2 separate regions of the Homo sapiens genome follow, and region 2 is linked to region 1. The links are contacts of gene promoters, found by promoter capture Hi-C in blood cells and fetal thymus (Javierre and others, 2016). All regions are on one chromosome and are shown on one strand. Each heading gives the region's core, a stretch centred on a gene start or on the middle of the fragment in contact. The rest is flanking DNA. Distances are from core to core; before and after follow the strand shown. Region 1 overlaps LINC02558 (long intergenic non-protein coding RNA 2558). Region 2 holds the start of RFPL3S (RFPL3 antisense).

Region 1 (3,037 bases), core at 26-2,525:
CCTCTGTGGTGCAAGCTCCTGAATTTTCATTGATACTGTTTATGTTCTTTTGACTAATGTTCCAGTTGTTCTATATTTGGTACTCAATGTGGTTTTACCCAACATGAGTCACTCTCTTCTTTCCCAGGGTTATCACACAGGGAAACCCCATTCTCCTTAGTCAGCAATACCTTAAGTTCTAGTACACAATCCTTTTACTGACACATGCCAACTGTGATCATGAATTATCACAGAGTTACTCATCTTTATAAATATTTTGAAACTCCTCTTAACTCACTACTACTGCCATTGTTACAATGGGATCACTGTTACCTCACAGTATCTCTGATGCCTGGTGTGTCATACATGTGAAAAGTATCACATCCAGGACAGGAAACAGCTCTCCTAATTCTCAGTTCGGAGTGCTTTCATTTATCTATCCATCTATTATTCATCTACCCATCGATCCATCCATCCGTCTACCTACCCATCCATTCATTTATCATCCATCCATGTAACCATGTATCTGTCCATCCGCCCACCAATTCTGTGATTACCTTGCTTTCAAAAAGGACTAAAAATCCCTATGCACCCATGTTCATAGCAGCATTATCCACAATAGCCAAAAGGTGAAAGCAACCCAATTGTCCATCAACAGGTGAATAGATAAGCAAAATGTGGTATATACATACAGTGGAATATTATTCAGCCTTAAAAAGGAAGGAAATTTGGACACATGCTTTAACATGGATGCCGGACGCGGTGGCTTATGCCTGTAATCCCAGCACTTTGGGAGGCAGAGGTGGGCGGATCACGAAGTCAGGAGATCGAGACCATCCTGGCTAACACGTTGAAACCCCGTCTGTACTAAAAATACAAAATATTAGCTGGGCGTGGTGGCAGGTGCCTGTAGTCCCAGCTACTCAAGAGGCTGAGGCAGGAGAATGGCGTGAACCCAGGAGGCAGAGCTTACAGTGAGCCAAGACCGCGCCACTGCACTCCAGCCTGGGCGACAGAGTGAGACTCCATCTCAAAAAAAAAAAAAAAAAAAAAAACATAGACGAACCTTGAGGACATTATGCAAAGTGAAATAAGCCAGTGATGAAAGAACAAATACTATGTGATTCCATTTATAATAGGTACCTAGAGTTAGTCAGATTCATAGAGACAGAAAGTAGAATGGTGGTTACCAGGGGCAACTGGGGTAGGGCGGGGGTGGGAGATTGGGGAGTTATTGTTTTAATATGTATTGTTTAAACAGTACAGAGTTTCCATTTTGTGAGATGAAGGGAGTTCTGTGGATGGGTGGTGGAGATGGTAGCACAACAGTATGAATGTATTTAATGCCACTGAAGTGGATACTTGATGGTTATGAAGGTAAATTTTATGTTATGTGTATTTTACCACAATGAAAAAAATACCTACAATAAGATTTATTGTCAGCAAGGATTTATTGAGCTGCTATAAGTTCCACGCCATGTGTGCTAGGCACTGGAAATAGAGCAGTGAATAAGAAAAAGTCCTAGACCTCACAGAGCTTGTCTTATAGTGGAGAGGACAGACAATAAACAAGTAAGCAAATAAATAAACAATACATTTATATTTTGTTATGAGTACTATGAAAGTCACAGATTGGGGTGGGGGTGGGATTTTCTGATTAAGATGCCCAAGGAGGGTGGTGGTGGCATGATCACGGCTCACTGCAGCCTCTACCTCCTGGGCTCAAATGGTCCTCCCACCTCAGCCTCCTGAGTAGCTAGGACTACAGGTGTGTGCCACCACACATGGCTCATTTTTGTATTTTTTGTAGAGGTGGGTTTCACTATGTTGCCCAGGCTGGTCTTGAATTCCTGAGCTCAAACGATCTGCCCACCTCTGCCTCCCAAAGTTCTGGGATTACAGGCGTGAGCCACTGTGCCTGGCTGGTGGTTGTTCTTAACCTATTTTGGGGTCACTGATCTTTCTGAGAATCTAATAGAAACCATGGGCCCTCTTTGCAAGAAAACACAAATATGGCAATTGTGCATAGAGTTTTAGGGATAAATGAATGTCTGAAACCCCCTCTGAGGGGGTCCATCCATGAGTCTTAGGTTAGAAACCTTTCCTTTTCTGGCTCACTCCTCAGTGTTCGATGGGATGAATTCCAGTATGCTTAGCAAACTGGCCAACCTCCCTGGTGGTTCAGTTTCTACCCACATCTCTGGCCTTATCTCCTGCTGTTCTGCCCAGCCATGCAGACCACAAGCACTTCCAGTTCTCTGAATACATATACCACATGTTCTGACATCTTCATACCTTTTCCCAACTGTGTTGACTCAGAAACTCCTACTTACCCCTTAAGACTCAATGCAAATATTCTCTCTTAATGGTTGTCTCTTTTGCCTCTCTCTCTCTACCTCCCTCAGCAAGACGTGTTAGACAAGTTAGCCATGTTCTGCCTCACCTTGCCTCACTATCACAGCATTTTTCACATTATAGTGGTTTATGTTCATTATTTTAATTCATTTATTCACACAGCTAATATTTATTGAGCATCTATTATGTGCTAGCCCAGTGTTAGGCACAGTGATGGCTAAGAGAGCCTGGCACTGTCCTCATGAAGCTTATAGTTTAGTGGGGAGCATAGATATTAAAAGTATAGTTATACAAATACCTGTAAATTGAAAATTAGGAAAAGTTTAGGAAGGATGAGAGCAGGGATCTTTGAGCTATCTAGGTTAGGGGTGTAGTGCAGGTTAGGAAGTATCTCAGAAGACACTCAAGCTCTCAAGCTGAGATTAAAGGATTGCAAGAGTTTGCCTAGCAAAAGCTAAGAGGGAAGCATTCCTGCACAGGGAACCGTGTGCGCATGTCATATGTAAACTTTCCCTGATTGACCGAGAGGGCCTCTGAAGCAGAGATGGTGTTGTACTCAAGTCTGCAACCCCAGTGCCTGGCAGAGTGGATATTCTGAATAAATGAATGAATGAATGAATGAATGAGTTTCTCAGTGCAGAATTATCAGGCTTAGCCATTAGATGGGAGAGTATTCTTTTGATGGTGAAATAAATTCACTTTT
Region 2 (3,159 bases), core at 504-3,003, 350 kb before region 1:
GAATCTGTGGGGATTGTTAAAGTTTTTTTTTAGTTTGCTGCATTTCTGAGTATACAAACACATACACATATAACTATAGTATCGTGTGTGTGTGTGTATAATTTGTGTATATACATATATTTGTTCAATCTGGAAGCCATTGAAATTTTCTGTTTATAACAACACAGAATGACCTATTCTTTCAGCACCTACCCCATTACACCCTCTGTTTTATAATCACTGGACAAAATATAGCATCATCTATATTAATGCAGATTGTATACATCATTTGTGACCTATTTATTTGTTCTAGAAATTTGTACTTAGCAATGATAGACATTTGTACTGTAATATTTATATCATGAAGGGTACCTATTCTCTTTGAAACATAGCAACTCTCTCATCTTAACCCTAAAATTTTCATTTGTTCTATTTATTTTAGGGCAGGTCACTTTCAACAGCTTGTTTTCTTGGGCATATCATAAAAGTATTTGCAATTGGGTGTTATGTATCAGCCAGAATACACACGTAGTTATACATTTTGAAAGTTATCTAAAATTCTGCATTCAGAAACACTTTAATTATATGTATTAGGCTGGGCATGGTGGTTCACGCCTCTAATCCCAATACTTTGGGAGGTCGAGGTGGGTGGATTGCTTGAATCCAAGAGTTGAAGACCAGCCTGGGCACCATGGAAAAACCCCATCTCTACAAAATATTAGCTGAGCATGGCGGCAAGAACCTGTAGTCCCAGCTACATGGGAGGCTGAGTTGGGAGGATCACCTGAGCCTGGGAGGTCAAGGCTGCAGTGAGCCATGATCAAGCCACTGCACTCCAGCCTGAGTGACAGAGTGAGACCCTGTCTCAAATAAAAAATTATATGTATTCACCCAAAGTGTTCACCCCACCGAGAAGATGCACTGGTGAAAATATAGTGATTTTTTTTTCCTTTAAATACTCAGTGAATGGCCAGCCGTTTACATACACAATGGTAGACAAATTCCTCTGTGAATTCACAAAGTTTGGGAGATAAATAAGTGCATAGTAATATATAGAGATAAGTGGAAAAATAAGTTTCATAATTATATTGTGAGAGAAATATGATTTTTATAATATCAAGTAACACTTTTTTCTAATTCTGAACAGTTTATTGCTTCTAGAAACATTAGATCACTCAGGAATGGTAGAAATATGACTTTTTAGGGAAATATGACTTTTAAAATGTGACTTTAAAAAATGTCACTTTTTAAGAAACATGACTTTTATAACAATATCCATTTATGCTGTCTTTAATTCTGAACAGTTTGCTTATTGGTTCTAGAAATATTAGATGACTCAGGAATGGTAGAAATATTTGGCAATGGAATTTCGAATCGAGAATGGAACTTCTGGTTGTTACTAACATATCGGTTTTGCCCCTGCTCAGTTTGAAATTCTTGCCATTGAGTGTATTTTGGGGTACACAATTTCTCCTCCTAAAACTTATTTTAATAAGCACAGAATAGTAATTAATGAGCTTGGGTTTTGTTGTTTTTTTTTTAAGTAAAACGCCTAATCTTTTATTTTATTTTATTTTATTTTATTTTTTTACGGAGTCTCGCTCTGTCGCCCAGGCTGGAGTGCAGTGGCGCTATGTCGGCTCACTGCAAGCTCCGCCTCCCGGGTTCACGCCATTCTCCTGCGTCAGCCTCCCGAGTAGCTGGGGGCTCCCGCCACCACGCCCGGCTAATTTTTTGTGTTTTTAGTACAGACGGGGTTTCACCATGTTAGCCAGGATGGTCTCTATCTCCTGACCTCGTGATCCACCCACCTCGGCCTCCCAAAGTGCTGGGATTACAGGTGTGAGCCACCACTCCCTGCCGTAAAAGGCCTAATCTTTAATGACCCTCCTGTGCGTGTGAAAGCACTCTTGTTGGTGCAGCAGAAAGCGGACCTCACAATACACATTGTGACTTTACCCTGAGACGTTGATGATGCTCCTATCACCATGGTTATGTGATTGGGTATATCTTGCCCTCGGTCCTAACTGCCACTGTCTGTGCTGAGTTTTTCAAAGTTCATAGCAGGTTGAACATGCTTGCTGTCATTTTCACAGATTCTGGTCTTTCTTATGGGGAACCTGAGTTCCTGCATTAAAGGTATGTTCACATTGGCCTGTTGAATGCTGTCCTCTCAAATGTACTAGTTAATATTTAAAAATATATTTTATTAAAAAATTCTCCTCTGTATTTTTCATATGCAGTTATAAATGTGTTTCCCGGTTATGTTTTATTCCTCAATTTATATATTTGATTCTAGTATCAAGCAGGATGCCTTTGAGCTTTTCCTTTATTTAAAAGACATGTCTTATTTCCTGTTACATCTGGCACCCCTCAAACCACCCAATTAGGTATCCTTCTGGGAAAAATATGGCAAAGTATGTTTTAATGCAGTTTTTACCTAATTAAGAACCTATTAAAATCATTAATTTTAAAAATTAGGAGCAAAGCTAGAATGATGCAGATGTCTTTGAGGCTTTTAACACAACGAAGTGTGTCCATCTTTGTCTTTTGTTGTTGTTTTTTTGTTTGTTTGTTTGTTTTTGAGATGGAGTCTCACTCTGTCGCCCAGGCTGGAGTGCAACGGTGCGATCTCGGCTCACTACAACCTCCGCCTCCCGGGTTCAAATGATTCTCTCGCCTCAGCCTCCCGAATAGCTGGGATTTCAGGCACCCACCATCATGCCCGGCTAATTTTTGTATTTTTGTAGAGACAAGGTTTTACCATGTTGGCCAGGCTGGTCTTGAACTCCTGACCTCAGGTGATCCACCTGCCTCGGCCTCCCAAAGTGGTGGTGTTACAGGCGTGAGCCACCACACCAGGCCCTGGCCTGTTTTTAGTATGTCTTTCCTCTCTCCTTTTTCATGAAATGTGTATTCAGTTTAGTAAATTTGGAATATGTCATTTATATTCACATATTAACTTTTTGAAAAGAAGTAAGAATGTGTATTGTCTATGTGTCAGTGTGTGAAACAAAACACACTTATTTTTATGATTGGGGTTTATCCAAAATGATAGAGATAACAATTATAGTCAATCACCCAAACCACTTACCTTTCCAAAGGTAAATATAATCAAGTGTAATCATTTTTTCTCATCCAGAGAGTAGTTCATATTTCAACATACAAAGATAGAGAAGT

The links. The method cuts DNA at HindIII sites, captures the fragments that hold promoters and counts their contacts. A CHiCAGO score of 5 or more calls a contact.
Region 2: the fragment with the promoter of RFPL3S here is called in contact with a fragment that was not itself captured in region 1 in 3 of 17 cell types (M0 macrophages, M2 macrophages and endothelial precursors); the score reaches 7.4 in M0 macrophages.

The regions. Positions count from the first base shown.
Region 1 is chr22:32,017,472-32,020,508 of GRCh38, reverse strand. The region is part of intron 4 of LINC02558 (long intergenic non-protein coding RNA 2558); the gene reads right to left. Among named protein-coding and RNA genes, the nearest start is that of SLC5A1, 24 kb to the left of the region's middle. The HindIII fragment of the contact is 2,616 bases long and covers 1-2,583 here.
Region 2 is chr22:32,369,858-32,373,016 of GRCh38, reverse strand. RFPL3S (RFPL3 antisense) reads left to right here and starts at 1,753. Exons shown (of 5, transcript NR_104232.1): 1 at 1,753-1,819; 2 at 2,076-2,118. The HindIII fragment of the contact is 20,480 bases long and covers 1-3,159 here.